Linked DNA regions of Homo sapiens: regions 2, 3, 4 and 5 are each linked to region 1. The links are contacts of gene promoters, found by promoter capture Hi-C in blood cells and fetal thymus (Javierre and others, 2016). All regions are on one chromosome and are shown on one strand. The core of a region is centred on a gene start or on the middle of the fragment in contact, and the rest is flanking DNA. Distances in the headings are between cores, read along the strand shown.

What was found. The method cuts DNA at HindIII sites, captures the fragments that hold promoters and counts their contacts. A CHiCAGO score of 5 or more calls a contact.
Region 2: a fragment that was not itself captured here is called in contact with the fragment with the promoter of YAE1-DT in region 1 in 5 of 17 cell types (naive CD4 T cells, total CD4 T cells, fetal thymus and 2 more); the score reaches 7.9 in naive CD4 T cells.
Region 3: a fragment that was not itself captured here is called in contact with the fragment with the promoter of YAE1-DT in region 1 in 3 of 17 cell types (naive CD8 T cells, non-activated CD4 T cells and naive CD4 T cells); the score reaches 5.1 in naive CD8 T cells.
Region 4: a fragment that was not itself captured here is called in contact with the fragment with the promoter of YAE1-DT in region 1 in 1 of 17 cell types (activated CD4 T cells); the score reaches 5.0 in activated CD4 T cells.
Region 5: a fragment that was not itself captured here is called in contact with the fragment with the promoter of YAE1-DT in region 1 in 1 of 17 cell types (erythroblasts); the score reaches 5.0 in erythroblasts.

The regions. Positions count from the first base shown.
Region 1 is chr7:39,564,804-39,567,943 of GRCh38, reverse strand. YAE1-DT (YAE1 divergent transcript) reads left to right here and starts at 1,595. Exons shown (of 3, transcript NR_187579.1): 1 at 1,595-1,801. It overlaps YAE1 (YAE1 maturation factor of ABCE1), which reads right to left and starts at 1,540. Exons shown (of 3, transcript NM_020192.5): 1 at 1,397-1,540. The coding sequence starts at 1,525. It also overlaps the pseudogene TMX1P1. RefSeq lists an enhancer at 1,254-1,703. The HindIII fragment of the contact is 5,827 bases long and covers 827-3,140 here.
Region 2 is chr7:40,048,506-40,051,645 of GRCh38, reverse strand. All of the region lies in intron 7 of CDK13 (cyclin dependent kinase 13), which reads right to left. Among named protein-coding and RNA genes, the nearest start is that of MPLKIP, 85 kb to the left of the region's middle. The HindIII fragment of the contact is 5,751 bases long and covers 1-3,140 here.
Region 3 is chr7:39,988,007-39,991,146 of GRCh38, reverse strand. It overlaps CDK13 (cyclin dependent kinase 13), which reads right to left. Exons shown (of 14, transcript NM_003718.5): 2 at 2,889-3,140. Among named protein-coding and RNA genes, the nearest start is that of CDK13, 39 kb to the right of the region's middle. The HindIII fragment of the contact is 2,813 bases long and covers 484-3,140 here.
Region 4 is chr7:39,952,231-39,955,370 of GRCh38, reverse strand. All of the region lies in intron 1 of CDK13 (cyclin dependent kinase 13), which reads right to left. Among named protein-coding and RNA genes, the nearest start is that of CDK13, 3.5 kb to the right of the region's middle. RefSeq lists an enhancer at 2,989-3,140. The HindIII fragment of the contact is 2,517 bases long and covers 447-2,963 here.
Region 5 is chr7:39,833,023-39,836,162 of GRCh38, reverse strand. It overlaps LOC101928688 (a long non-coding RNA gene), which reads right to left. Exons shown (of 9, transcript XR_001745176.2): 2 at 1-72. It also overlaps the pseudogene LOC100422519 and the pseudogene SSBP3P1. Among named protein-coding and RNA genes, the nearest start is that of LINC00265, 100 kb to the right of the region's middle. The HindIII fragment of the contact is 3,054 bases long and covers 97-3,140 here.

The sequences.
Region 1 (3,140 bases), core at 346-2,845:
TTTTTACTCCTTAAAGAGCATACTCCTTAAAGGGCATACATAGTTTTCACCTTACAAGAAGGGGGAAAACCATAAATACAATGAATCAACTGACCATTATGTAGTAGACAATTTCTGTAATGTCCCCTTCTTTCTAGGCTCTGCGGATAGGAGAATCCACTAGACTTATAGTAGCATAATGTACAAGTTTTCTTTAAAGGTCTCTCCTTTAGAATATAAAATATTATACCATTGAAGAGTTTGGATGTGTAACCTGTGATGCCTTAGAAAAATATCCTAAGCACAAAATAAACTTTTCTAATCACTTCAAAAGATTAAAAAAACCAAAAAACAAAAAACAAAACCCAGCATTAGCAATGTCTTCACAAAAAGGATATATGGAAAATTACACATCTGGGCTCTTGCCAACTGATTGGAATGGTGTGGGTGGGTGAGGAGACAGGGCAAAGCAGAGAGAGGAAATTGTTTAAAAAAAAAAGGATGATGAGAAGTCTGGTTTCAGAAATTTTGCATAATACCTAAATTCAACTAACCTGCAAAAGCTCTGTGGGTAGTGATTTCGTTCTGCATCTCTCACGGTGCCACAGCATTTAAAAGATGCTCAATACTTATTAGTGTGGCCCCAGTCTCACATAAAGCATTTTTGTAATTGACAACATGGTTTTTGGGCTAAGCAAATACCACTCTACTGAAATATTAAACAGGGCAGATTCCCAACTGCAGCTTTAGCGGCAATTTAATGGTTGGCAAATATATTAAGTGGATGTGGACCTCACTATTTGGTCCTCACCCAGAAATACTGTAGGCTGCACACAGAAATTAAGCTTAGTTTCAATGAATAGTGAGACAAATTAGAGATGAAAAAGTTACATCTAACAAATAAAAAAGAAACCAACTTTAATATTCCCTTACCTAGACACCAGTATTCCACATTAGCTTTCCCTTATTGTCCTCTGACAGCATGCTTTAGTTCATCTTTTCAATATGTCTTGATTAACACTACTCCTTAACTTTAGGCTCCCTACCCATTCAAGCCACCCATATAAACTGCGTACACGTCCTTTGACAGCCATAATAAGTATAGTGTATGTTTCTCTCCAGCTCCTTTCCCTGTGATCCTCAACAAACTGCAAACTGTTCAAAGTCTACACATAGTTAATTTTGGTCGGTCCTCAGTTTCTAACGCATCCCGTAGGCGCTCAAAGAATGCGTCTTGTTGTTTTACACGCTTTCAAGTAACCATCGAGAAATCCTAGCAAGACGCGGGTCGGACCGGGTCCCTAGGGATAAAGAGAGCAGCGCCGGGCCAGGCTGGGGCCACTCTGGACCCAGCTTCTTCACAACTCCGCGCCTCTTCCCACAACCCAGCACCCCGCGCCGTCCACACCACGTTTACTTTGACTCGTCTTTGCATGTTACTCTGCCATTCCCGCTGCGCCAGGAGCGACTCGTCTGCTTCTTCGTCAAACACGTCCCCTTTGTCTCCAGGGCCCTGGATCAAGGAGGCTGCTTGAACCCACGACATCACCGAGGCAATTACGGGGTCGCAGGCCACCGGAAGCGCCAACAACTCCTTCCGGTCCGAAGGCGGGGCGAAGACGGCGAGTGGAGGCTCGGGAGGGGCTGCGTGTGCGCGGAGGCGGGCTGTGGCCCGTGGCCGCCGCCGGAGCCTTTCGCTTGCGGTGATTTTGGGCTCCCTCGGTTGGCAGTGTTGATGTGTGCCTGTGAGTTGTGAGCGAGGCAGATTTCCTCGCGTGGCCGGCACGACCTTCACCTTTGCAGAAGGCAACCGGGACCCTCAGTGAGACACCTTCCATTTCCACCGTAGTCTTACCATGGTCTGGGTTTTACATTCGCGCGCTTTGGTAAACTATTAAAGGTAGTAAAGTCGATGGGCGATTACCACCCAAATACTTTGTCTCTTTTGGAATCTCCTCTGCATTTAAAGGATTTGACAAGCCGACATTTTAAACTGTTAGGATTGTGGAGTAAAGGAAAATAGGATCGAAAAGCGAGGTACTGTAGCCAATTTGAGATTAGTAAGAAATATAGAGTACATTTGTAAAGCCAATATATTTTTTCATTGATTCACGATATCCTTCTGCCTCCCATTCCTGTTCATATGCCCTAAAGTAAACAGTTGGTTTGGTAAGGGTGGGGACTTGTGTCAACACCAGGACAGTTCTGACACATAGTAAATGCTGAACTCTATTTTGGTGAATGAATGAATACCTGTAGTATTCCTGTTTTGCCCTTTGCCTGGGTAAAATGAGTCATGTGATTATGATTTATTTATCTAACAATTTATTGAACACCTACCTTGTGTCAGGTACCATTCCAGGCTTTGGGATACATCAATGAACAGACGGAAGTTCCCAACCCTTGTCGACTTTATAGTCATGTAAAATTGACAGGATAAACAATAAGCAATATATAAGTAGCATAAGGTTTGTTAGAAGATCATAAATAAATGCTATGAAAAAAATTTTTAAATAAGCACAGTAAGAACCATAAGTGTGTGGGAGTGGGTGGTTGGTTCATGTTACAATTTTAAATCTCCAGAGAGAATTTGGCATCCCACAAATAAAAAATATATAAACTACAAATATGTATATTTTATTAATGTAAATATATTAAGATATATGTATATATCTTTATTAGGAACAAAATGGTAGTAAGCAATAAAGATAACAATAAAATAGAAAACCTCAAAACTTGAATAAGTAAGTCCAATTCTTTTTTGTATTATTTGAAAACACCAATAAGATAGATAATCCTGTCATGACCCAGATTTTTAAAGAGAACAAAATTATACAAGAATGAGAAATGAGATAACCACTGATGCAGAAGGAGATTAAAATATTAATTACCAACTAAAACTCAAAAGCAACACATTCGAAAACCTGAGAGATATGAATGACTTTCTAAGAAAATTGACCCAAGAAGTAGGGTCATGAAGAGACTAATTACCATAGAAAAATTGGACATTAAATATCTACTATTAAAAATGTCATGGAGACTTGGGAGTTTCACATTAAGTCCTTTGCAATCTTTAAGGAATGATGGAGTCTTAAACTATTTTTACCATTTTAGGGGAGAGAAAAAGAAGAAACTCCTTAAATCATTTCATGAAGCCAGCC
Region 2 (3,140 bases), core at 261-2,760, 480 kb before region 1:
ACTGCTCTATTTACAAACAAAAAACCTTACACAAAATTCTTGAACAATTCAGTTATTCGATCTATATTAACTACTTAGAAAATAAAAACACTTCAAAGTGACTTTATACTTGCATGAGTATTACAGTAAGGCCCTACCTGGCTCTCTGTTTATAATGAAGCAGAAATATGAATGAAAAATCATTTGTTACATATTTATCTCAAAAAATATCTAGAAAATTTGAGACAATACAATAAATCTGTTAAAGGTAGATTTCTTTTAAAATCACAGTTATTAAGGTTCACTAGAGCAACATATGTATTTTAAAGGTATTCCATTATATTAATACTACCTCTCCAGGAGATTCTGAAGAAATCAGAATTATTCTCTTAAAAAAAAAAAAGAGAAGTTTTAAAGGAGTATATAAACCCCATAATGATAGGATATTTGCTCTTAAAACAAAATGACAGACTGAATTTTCCTCTTATACATTTAACTGAGCAGAAAAATTCAGTATACATTACCTGAAGATGCAAAGTTATGGGACTTTAAAACTCTGGTTCTCTAAACTCAAAATTTCTACATCAATCCAGCAGGGCAACAGGGACCATGGCCCAGTGAACACACCACACCCCGGCACTCCAATGGAACCCAAATTATATTTTAAAATGAAAATCAATGGGAAAATTAAGCCTCATAATATAAAATTTGGCTTTATAATCAGCTTTTCTGAAACATATCTATTCCAAATGTGCACAAATATCTGCATAACAAGAATCTATTAGATTAAAATGGTAATTAGCTGTTTTCCATTCCATAGGAAAGGATTTACATAATTAACAACAGACACAAACTTATATTAAGCAAAATCTAACTACAGTGAAATCTCAACCAGCTTAGCAGATAGAATTCTTAATTAACCAGAACTTGCCCAAAATAATAGCCACATTAATTTAGTCATATATATGCTTCTCAGCTGGGCATGGTGGCTCATGCCTATAATCCCAGCACTTTGGGAGGCCAAGGCAGGCAGATCACTTGTGGTCACGAGTTCGAGACCAGCCTGGCCAACATGGCGAAATCCTGTCTCTACTAAAAAATACAAAAATTAGCTGGGCATGGTGGTGCACATCTGCAGTCCCAGCTACTCGGAAGGCTGAAGCTGGAGAATCGCTAGAACCCGGGAGGCGGAGGTTGCAGTGAGCTGAGATCACGCCACTGCACTCCAGCCTAGGCGACAGAGTGAGACTGTCTCAAATAAAATAAAATACATATGCTTCTTAAACAGCAGAAGAAAAAAATATACTTCAAGTTAAGTTTTGGATTAAGTACAGTTCAGACCAATTTTTCCTTTCAACTTCTACCAAGAGGCACTATTATATATGACAGAAAGAATAAAAAATTGCGAATTGAAAACTTAACTATACACCCTTGGCTCTGCTAACATTTTTTGATCTTTAAAGTCACTCAACCCTTCACAATAGCCAGGATAGGGAATCAACGTTAAGCGTCCACTAAGAGATGGACGGATAAAGAAAATGTGGCCTGTAATCCCAGCTATCGGTAGGCTGAGGCAGGAGAATCACTTGGACCCCGGAGGTGGAGGCTGTAGTGAGCTGAGATTGCACCACTGCACTCCAGCCTGGGCGACAGAGTGAGACTCTGTCTCAAAAAAAAACAAAACAAAACAAAAAAAGGAAAATGTGGCATATACGCACAATGAAATACTATTCAAGTCTTTAAAAAACAAGGAAATCCTGTCATTTATGACAACATGGATGAACGTGAAGCGCATTGTGTTAAGTGGAATAAGGCAGGCACATAAAGACAAATAACTCATCATTTCACTTATACGTGAAATCTAAAAAACCTCAACTCATAGAGGTAGAGAGTAGAGCTGGTAGTTACCAGATACGGGGCATAGGGAGTATGGGGGGAAGATGCTGGCCTAAGGATATAAAAGTTCAGTTAGACAAAAGTAAATTCAAGAGATTTATTGTACAACTTGGCAGCTACACTTAATAACAATGTATTCTTGAAAATTGTTGAGAGTAGATTTTTAAGTGTTGGCACACACAAAAAAAATGTGGGGTAATGCATAGTAATTAGCTCAATGTAGCCATTTCACAATGTATACATATTTCAAAATTAAAAAAGGAAACTAACTCAGCCCTTTCTGGGTCTCAATTCGCTCAAATGCAAAATGAGGGACATAGCTTTTGAGCTTTAAAACAGTTTTAAACTTCAAAAAAAAAAAAACACTCATACAACCCTTTCCTAAAATAAAATGTTAATTTTAAGTGTAGTAGTTAAAACAAATAAAAACCAAGTAACTCTGGTGAAAGTTGGTACAGAGGACTGGAGGTCCAATCACAAAACCCCATCCACAGAACACTTTCTTTCCTTTCTCTCTCTCTGTCTCTCTTTCCTTCCTTCCTCCTTCCCTCTCTCCTCCCTTCCTTTTTTTTTTTTTTTTTTTTTTTTTTTGGAGACAGTCTTGCTGGAGTACAGTGGTGTGATCTCGGCTCACTGCAACCTCCGCCTCCCAGGTTTAAGTGATTCTTGTGCCTCAGCCTCCCAAGTAGCTGGGATTATAGGCGTGCACCACCAAGCCCAGCTATTTTTAGTAGAGATGGGGTTTCACCATGTTGGCCAGGCTGGTCTCCAAGTGCTGACCCTCAAGTGATCCGCCTGCCTCTGCCTCCCAAAGTGCTGGGATTTGTACAAGCATGAGCCACTGCGCCTGGCCCACTGCACACTTTCTGAGGGGTTTCATGGAACTTGAATAGATCCAAAACATATCACTTATAAACCTCTACTCTAGAACACTATATAAGGAAAATACTTTCCAGAATTATGTCACAGGCGCTGCAAGATTTAACAAAATAAGACTTTTTACTCTGAAAAATTCAAACGAGAGTTTTTGTTTATTGCTTTAACCAAAAAAAGCAAAGATTAAATGAAAGTAAACATCTATTCCTAAGACTGCAATCAACTGATGTTTCATTATATTAAATTATGGTGATATTAAAGAAATGACAAAATTGTCATAAAATAATTTTAAAATTCTTTAACTATATTATTTCAGATATATATATACACATATGGAAATAAAGACAAAAAAGGAATGGGGTAAATGGACTAAAGATTTATTAAGCCAA
Region 3 (3,140 bases), core at 641-3,140, 420 kb before region 1:
TTACCAAGAGCATTACTTTCAGATACATGAAAAAAATGGCCTGGGGGTGGTCCCCCTTCATTATAAAAGGGGATGGAAAACCAACCAATAGTTCCTCTTTTACAAAAACCAATCCTTTTCAAATGAAGCACTAGGTCTATTCGTTACACACCGGATCTACATGTTACACATATAATGGTTTATATATTATACAATGTAAATCATATTTTGTAATTTTTACTTTTTTTCAATAATCTAAAGCAGTTTTAAATATCTGTAGTATTTCCAGCAGTGCTGATTTATACTATGACTAATTACAATAACTGAGATGCATAACACTTTACAGCTTGCAAAATTCAGTCCATCAACTAATTTAATCTTTACAACTAATCTGTGAGGTTAAACTGTAAATATTTTCACCCATGAATAGAACTATGGACTGGGGCACAGAAAGATTAACTCATGAGAGTAGTAAGAGGTACAACTGGCACTAAAAACTAAGCTTTCTACTACAGCCCACTAACAAATGTTATTGTACTTCTAACAGTATTATAAATAGTAAATATAAAATAAGTCTCCTGTGCCATCCATTCCCTTCAGCGCCCATTTATTTCCAAAAGTAATCACTTCTAACCATTTCTTTTTACAATACATTTTTATTTAATCACCTAAAAACTTTTATAAAAAGTAAAACAATATCAAGTCTCTTCCTCATATGTAGTTAGTACATACATTTAGGTAAATTATAGACATCAAAATAAGGAAAGTTCCATTGGTGATGAGTTAATCTTTGGCCACACAGACATGTAGTAGAAGTGCTCATGAATCTTTAGAAACTTCCGTATCCATTAAACATACAAACACATTCAAAGAAAGAAGAGACAACAAAAAGGGGGAAAAGGAGAGGAGACAGAAAAGGTGAATCAAAAAAAAAAAGTAATGAACAAGAATTAAATGTGCCACCAACTAATTAAAGACAGATGCATAAGGAATATCCTCATTAAGCACTCACATGTATACGTAAGAGTTCTTGAAAATAACCTAGTAAAAATTTACTCCTAAAGCATACATGAAGAATAAAGTAGGTTGGGCGCAGTGGCTCACGCCTGTAATCCCAACACTTTGGGAGGCCAAGGCAAGTGGATCGTGAGGTCAGGAGATCGAGACCATCCTGGCTAACATGGTGAAGCCCCCCGTCTCTACTAAAAATACAAAAAATTAGCCGGGCTTGGTGGCGGGCGCCTGTAGTCCCACCTACTCGGGAGGCTGAGGCAGAAGAACGGCATGAACCCAGGAGGCAGAGCTTGCAGTGAGCCGAGAGAGCGCCACTGCACTCCAGCCTCGGCAAAAGAGCAAGACTCCGTCTCAAAAAAAAAAAAAAAAGGATAAAGTAGAGAAACACCAGTCTCAATGAAACATGGATTCTCAGTAACTGGTTACTCTCTAATGAAGTAATTCAATTCCACACTCAAGCCTCACAATTACAAATCACTACTGTTATGAACCTTCAGCGTTCCCTGAGAACAGTCAAACCTGCAAATACAACAATTATAGTAGTATAATTAAATAACACCCGATTAAATTGGATGGGGTCTCCCAACAACATTTTGATTATTTTTAAAAAGGCACCTCAAAGGGCATGAAACTCAAGAATTATTATTTCACTTTTGTTTGTGTTAAATTATAAAATTTTCATAATGCCAAAGTAAGCACTTGTCCACATGGCATTTTTATCCATCTGACTTCAAAATCTATTAAAAAAAAAAAAATCAGCTAGGAAAACTACTCATATAGTTGCTTTTTAATGGGGAGTGGGAGGGGGTGGAAGCTCTAATTTCTTCATAAAAATAAAAACAGCTAGGTGGTGTAACAGGCAGATAAACCACACAAGTCTAATTTTTCTACACTAGGATACAAAAAAGAAACATTCTTAGCTGTATTTTTACTGCCTCTTAAGAATATGTTTCTCAATAAAAAATAAGCCATACCCTCACTGTTCATAATAGAAATTTTTAAACATCTTAAAGGAAAGCATAATCACATTATGAATTTTCTCTTTTTTTTTTTTTTTTTTTTTTTTTGGTGAGACACGGTCTTACTGTGTCACCCAGGCTGGAGTGCAGTGGCGCAATCTCGGCTCACTGCAACCTCCACCTCCCAGGTTCAAGTGACTCTCCTGCCTCAGCCTCCCTAGTAGCTGGGATTACAGGCACCTGCCACTGCGCCCAGCTAAGTTTTTTGTATTTTTAGTAGAGACGGGGTTTCACCATGTTGGCCAGGCTGGTCTTGAACTCCTGACCTCAGGTGATCCACCCGCCTCGGCCTCCCAAAGTGCTGGGATTACAGGCTTGAGCCACCAGGCCTGGCCACATTATGAGTTTTCTATAATATAATGTGATTAATCCCAACTGCAAGACAGGCTAAAAAAATTTTTTTTTAATTAAAAGAGTTAAGAAAAGACTAAACTAAAAAGTGATAACAAAATCACTGACAGTGATAAATTTACAAGGCCACTGAAGAAACTTAGAAATAAATGAGACAAATGCTTGTGAGATGTATATTAACTAGGGCCAACTTATTCATAAAATATTCTGTCTCTGATTACATCATCAAGGAAAACTAAACCAAAGAGAATACTGGCATTTCTAATACCCAAAATCATATTGAAATATTCATTGTATCCCAAGACAATGGCAATTTTTCCCTGAATGTCTTAGTATAAACTTTAATTTTGCCATCTTGTATGCAATGTGCTTCATTTTAAGATGCATATAATCAAGAAAATTCATTCACTTGTAGTCTTTTTCACTAAAGTTGTTTCGAGGGGGTTAGGGGAGGTCAACTCATTTCTCACTTCAGACTTACATTTTTTCTTTGAACAGTTATTGACAAATACTTTTTGCACTTACCTATCAGCTTCTTTATCTTCAGGCAGCATGGGAGGCAAAGGTAACGGTGGTAATGTAGAGGTGACTAAAGCTACATGTTGCTCCTTCTCCTTGGCTCCTATGCTTGGTGTAAGTGGTTTGGTTTTCTCTTTAAGAGATACTGATTCCTCCTTTGTAGCAGCAGATTTACTCTCCTTTCCAACTATGACTGCTTTCTTGGTGGCTTTATCTACAATCAAATTATTTTCCACCTTCGTTACCTGAAGAGGTGGC
Region 4 (3,140 bases), core at 456-2,955, 390 kb before region 1:
TACTTTCAAATCAGCCTAGGGTTTGAATCCAAGCTGACCTTGGAACAAATCGCTTAAAACCTTTTAGAGCTCCCGTTTCCCAATCCATCAATGGGAATGTTTCCAACTATCACATGGATTTTGGTGGTCAATATATGTTAAATATTTATCAATGCCTGGCACACAGTAAAACACTACAAACGGTACCCTCCCCTCTTTTCAGCACACCCTCACATTTATTATAGGGCCAGTCAGCAAGATTACGTGACCTTCCACACCCCAACAGTCAAGTAGTAAAGAAAATACGGCAAACAGATTATACAGGGGAAAAAGTAAAGCTAAGAGGGAACTGATGAAAAGAAATGCATGAGCCGAGGACTGAAGATTCAAATGAAGACAAAGAACAAGTTGTGAAGTGGAAATCACTAAAATGAAAAGGATTTATTTATCTGACATCAAAAAAAGCTTCAGGCTGGATGTGGTGGCTCACACCTGTAATCCCTGGACTTTGGGAGGCTGATGCAGCAGGTGGATCATTTGAGCCCAGGAGTTTGACACCAGCCTGGGCAACATGGTGAAACCCTATCTCTATTTTCAGCTTATTTAAAATTGTTTTTCATCTTCATACCACGATTTCAATACTATTTTGAATGTGTATGCATTTCCTTGAAAATATCTACGCTGACAATTCATTAATATGTAAGTTCTGCATAGGCTGGGGAAATATTACACTGTTTCTTACAGCATTACACATGGTCTGTATTAAATATTTTGAATGAAGTTTGTAATACAAAGCCCACATTAATATTTTGTATGTTCAGTAAACTCCAGCATCCCTTCATTTACACCTATTCAACATTTATTAAGAGTGTACTTGTGCCAGATACAGTGCTGAGCACTAGAAATACAATGATGGATAAGACAGCCCAGTTGCCTTCATGGAACTCACAGCAGTCCATTCATTAAAGAACATGGGCCACTTACCACAAGTAATAAATTCTGAAAATAAATAAAACTTTTCCATTAATCTGTACAAGTGAGTTCAATTAACCGTTCCTAAAAAGTAACAATACACTTATTATATTTTAAAATCTTTAGATTTTTCCAATCAACTATTTTAGCTATTAATTCTAGGCCCTATGTTTTAAGCTGGACATTTGACAAACTAGATATAATGTGAAAAATCTGAAAACCGTATGAGTTTTTTAGTCTAGAAGACTCAGAAATCATGACAACTGTCTTTATATTTTAAAGGGTTAGCATACACGTGTGCTCTGTACCATTCCAAAGGGTTAAACTTGGAGCAATGGTTCGAAGGTGGATTTTGGTCACAATATGAAGAATTCTAACAATTTGGGATATTGAATAATTCAACGACCTTAAATATTTCTGTAAGGCTGCATGCTTTAAAAAGATAAATTTTCACTTAATCCTTGAAATAATCCAGAAAAACAAGTGTTTCCCTGTTACAGTTTAGGAAACTGAGTCTTCAAGGATCTTGCTAAAACACTCAAGTCCCAAATCTAGTGAACAGGTTGCCTCTAACTAACGTGCTTCCCACCTCTAGATGTATTTCAGGCACATACCAAATGGCCATCTGTCAGCAATGTTAGCCAAGACACCCTAAAGTTCCTTCCAAATTCAACTCTTTAGAAATACTGGTGGTCAATGTAAACACCATGAAAAGATTATGTGTTGAACGGTCCTCCAGAATGCAAGCTCTATGAGGGCAAGTAACTTTTTCTTTCCTGCTACATCCCAATACCTAAAACAGTATATGGCATACAATACAGGGTCAAAAAATACTTGCTAAATATGAATAGTCCTAGTCATACATACCACGATTATATATTTCATATATGTATATAAAAAATACATACCACTATTATACAATAAAGGATCTCGCTGAAGTATCCAGCAACTAAAAAACCTGATAAGTACAAAATCCATTCTTAAAATTGCATCAAGCACTTTAAATTGTTCAAGTGCTGAAACTTCAACCAACCAGTTTGCAAAACAAATTCAACTGCAAAAACTGCAAACCCTTTGGCAAAGTATTATAGTTAAAAGTAACATACAAAGTCTTACAAGATACAATGGCTAATTTTGATGAATGAGTTTTTCAATTCTTCGCTAAGGTATCAACTAACATTTTAAGTATGCTTCAACACTCTTTAAGAGTGAAGCAATTTATAGAACTTTTTTGGCTTAAAGACAAACTCACGCTCAGATCTCTATAAACATCACACCTTTACATTTATTATGGTGATACTTCAAAAAGGTCTGCTAATTTTGCAGATGCATATTCGTATTATGTTGAGATTCCACATAACCCATACTTAGAGGTACTGTACATCCACTTGCCATTACTGAAACCCAGGAGGAAAAACTGATACAAATGTCATTTTGCAATACTCTACACTATAAGGTCTGGAATGTCCAAACATCTCAAGGAATATAAGAACCCATAAAATACTCGAAAGTTGTTTTTAATGCACTTTGCTTAGTGGATAAGTATATTTTAAGGCACACTTTTTAAAAAGAATATTATATAACAAAAAAGGCAAGAAAGCTACAGAAAAGTTTTACTCCAATTTCATTAAATTAAATTACACCTTTTAAAGATTTCTGGACAAAGATCCTGATATTTAAAGGTCTAGTTATATTGTGTTTTTATCCTTCGGGTATATATCTAAGAAAAAGTCTACTTAGCTTTTAAAGTAAGCAGTTACAGGCTTATAATAGTATAAGAATGTACTCAGCCATTCACTTGGTTACACTAGGTTACACCACCCAGATTTATAATGTTATTAGCAACTGGGTGTCATCACAAACCAACAAAGAAACCACAGTCTTGTCATTTTTTCTACCTTCTATAATTATGACTTTGAAAGATCAGGTAAAAACTATCCCACACAAGAATATCACTAAATAGATACCTTTTTTAACTTCAGTATTCAGAACTATCGGCTTCCACCTAAGCTTTTTTAACATACTAAAAGAATAAACTTTACAGAAAGGCTGCTTCTCCCATTTCTGTAATAATCATAAGAAACATCTGCAATCCACATCTAACTCTGACATCAGTACCTGATTCTTATTCCCCTGTACAATACTAGATCTTAAGTTGCAGTCCATTCCTAAATTCCCAACAATGAAAC
Region 5 (3,140 bases), core at 374-2,873, 270 kb before region 1:
CTCTTGTGGAACACTTTCAATAACATCAATATCATTTTGTCTTTTTGCACTTGCTGATTTAGTTGTTTCTTCCTATGAAAAACAAACCAAAAAGCTTTGGAAAACATTGTATTTATTCACCCACCCACTCAATCAGTCAACCAGTAAGACAACAAACATTCACTGTGTCTGCTGAATCATAGGCAATATCCTGGGAGAAGCTGAAAACATATATAGAAGAGACTCTTCCTTAATATTTGAGTAGGGGTAGAGATATATGGAAACAAACAAAAACAAAACAGTATAGTTCACTAGTTCTACAACTGAAGTTAATAATGGACAGTAAGGGCTCAAAGAAAACAATGGTCGGTTATACCTGGGAAGTTCCAGAAATGCTGCAAAGATAGGGCCTATTTTGAAAGAAGGACAAAGTGCAGAGAGTGAGGATGTGAAGGGTTTCTAGACAGGGCAGTATGAGCAAAGGTATGAGGCATGAAATGAGAAACGACATGGCAAATGAGGGGTGTTAAAGTAATGCAGGAAAACTGGAACCTAGTCAGAGGGAGTGAGATGGAGAAATAAAATGGGAGAATCAGGCCAAACCACAAAAGATATGTGCCATGCTAGAATGTGAACTTCCCCATCATGTAATGGGGATCCACTCATAAACAGATGAGTTACAGCATCATAAAATATCTTAGAAAGGCCACCCTGGCAGCATTGTAATGATAACTGAACATGGCATGGGATGGGGGAGGGACAAAACTAGACAAGAGTATTTCAAAATGATGGGTCAAAGTGAATTATAGCAGTGAGATATGAAAAACGGTAAGCAGGTGGAAAAAGTATAACTTGTGAGTGACTGGATTGGTGATTTGAGGGAGTGCTGGAATGCGAGATTTTTCCTGTTTCAATGTTTCAGTTCTATTTACTAGATGTTACTTCCTAGGATGGGAAAATCAGATGACAGAGCAGATTACAAAAAGTCAGGAGAAGGTCAAGGACAATGTCTTCAGTGTGGGACAAGTCAAATTGAGGCACTCAGGGTGTAGGAGTGGGTGACCTTACTTGGGAAAAGCATATGGTGTTAAGAAAAGAAATATTTGTAAAATATACTGCACTGGTAGAATTAACTCATGAAAACCTATATACAAGTCTGAAATTTTGAAAATGGAAAGAAGAGGAGGGAAATAACATGAGATTCAATTTCTCAATTACATATTTCTTTTTTTTTTTTTGAGAGTTTTGTCCTTCATGTTTTATGGAATAAAAAGTTTGGCCTTTTTATTGCATGAAACTAAAATTGGGAAAGGTAGGGGGCGTGGATGGGGTGGGAGGGGGTTTAGGGGAGCAGGGAGATGCCCTCCCCACCAGCTCCTGGATAATAACACCTCACTTCTTGCATAATTTCTGGCGTCTTCCCGCCTGCAATGCCGGCTCTCTCAGCGTCTCGGAGAAGGGGGGATCACACACTCATCGTCATGCTTGGAGAATAATTGTCATTCTGAAAGGAGTGGAGGAAGCTCCCTCCTAGCTCGCCGTCATCTCGAGGGGTGCCTGGAGGATTGCTAATGCCACTTATGTTGTTAGGAGAATTTTTTGGAAGTCCGTCTATGTCGCCTGACCCTAATGATCCATTCATGTGGTGTGGCTCCATGCCACCCATGCCGCCCATCGGACCGTCCGAGCCGGGACCCATCGGGAAGTTGGACCTGCCGCCAGGTCATTGTGTAGATGTTGTCACTGGAATTTGTTGAATCTGCGGGACTGGGCATAATGGGTGTTCCTGGAGGGCCGCCACCACCGGGGGTCCCACATAGGTACCAGGTGATGAGGAGGAATATGGAATTGAGTTAGCACTGTTAGGATTGGGCCAGGGTCTGCCAGCTCCCGGGCCCATGTTAATCCCGGGCATGGCGGGCCGAGGGAGTTGGGTGGTGGTCTCATGCCGCTGCCGTAATTCTGTGGGCCGGGACCCATGGGCCCCATGCCTCGGGGAGGGTTCATTCTCTGCATTGATCCTCCCATGTTGGGGTGGCCTTGTTGTCGTGTGGGATCCATAGAATTGGGCAGCAATGGCTGTGTCCCAAGAACTCCTCCCGGAGGCTGGTTTCCCATTCTGATCGGGGGCCCGGGGCCGCCTACGTATCGCGGTGACATAAAAGGCTGACTGTGGGGTCCCATCATGCTGCTAGGATTGTGAGGTGGAGGCTGTGCGTGCGGCGAGGGCTGTGACCCCGGAGGACCCTGAAAGAAACCTGGCGGGATGGGGCCTCCCGGCATCCCATCGTTGGGGGGAATGTTGCCAAGCACGGGGCTCGGGGCAGCTGCTGCACTATAATCATGAAAGGCTTTTGCTTCACTTGAATGTTCACAAGTGTCTCTCCTTTGAGGAGCTGCACAGTAAAGGTCCCCAAATACACACCACCACGAGTGCAAAAACCCAGGCGGTTCTCCCAACGTGATGTTTTTTTCCCATCGAATCTCCGACAAGAAGGTCTCTGCAGATTTCTGTACTCTTACGTGCAGTAAATATTCGTAGACGTATGAAGCTAACTTTTCCCAAGCCTGCCCATCCGAGGGCACCGCCGAGCCTCTGCCTTTGGCAAACATGGTTTGCAGGGAAGAGGGCGCCGAGCCTCGCCGCCGCCGCCGCTACCGCTCCGGCTCTCCCGCGCTGCTCCTCGCTCCCGGCCCCCTCCCCGGCGCTCGCTCGCTCTCTCGCTCGCTGGCGCTCTCCTCGCCGCGCTCCCCTCCCTCCCCACCAGGCGCTGGCTCCGCGCTCTTTCCAGCTGTCAAAGCGTCAGCCCGGGCCGCGGCCCCATCGCCCTGGAACTCCTTCGGCGCCGGCTCGGCCTGGGGGTGCCGCCGCCGCCCGCACGGCCGCCCGCTCTCCGCTCGCTCGCGCGCCCGCCCGGCTCCGCCTGCGCCGCCCTCTGCGCCTCCAGCGCCGCCGCCGCCGCCGCCGCCCTCTCAATTACATATTTCAACATTTGTTTCAAGGATATAAAATATACTTGTTTTAATATATGCTAATATTTTTGGAATATTATGGTCATATACATTTTATATTGAATGAAAAGATTTCATTCTAAGACCTCAATTCAAAATTCTGCAAGAACACTCCTTTTTAAAAATTAATTTTTAAAGTTTTACATTGT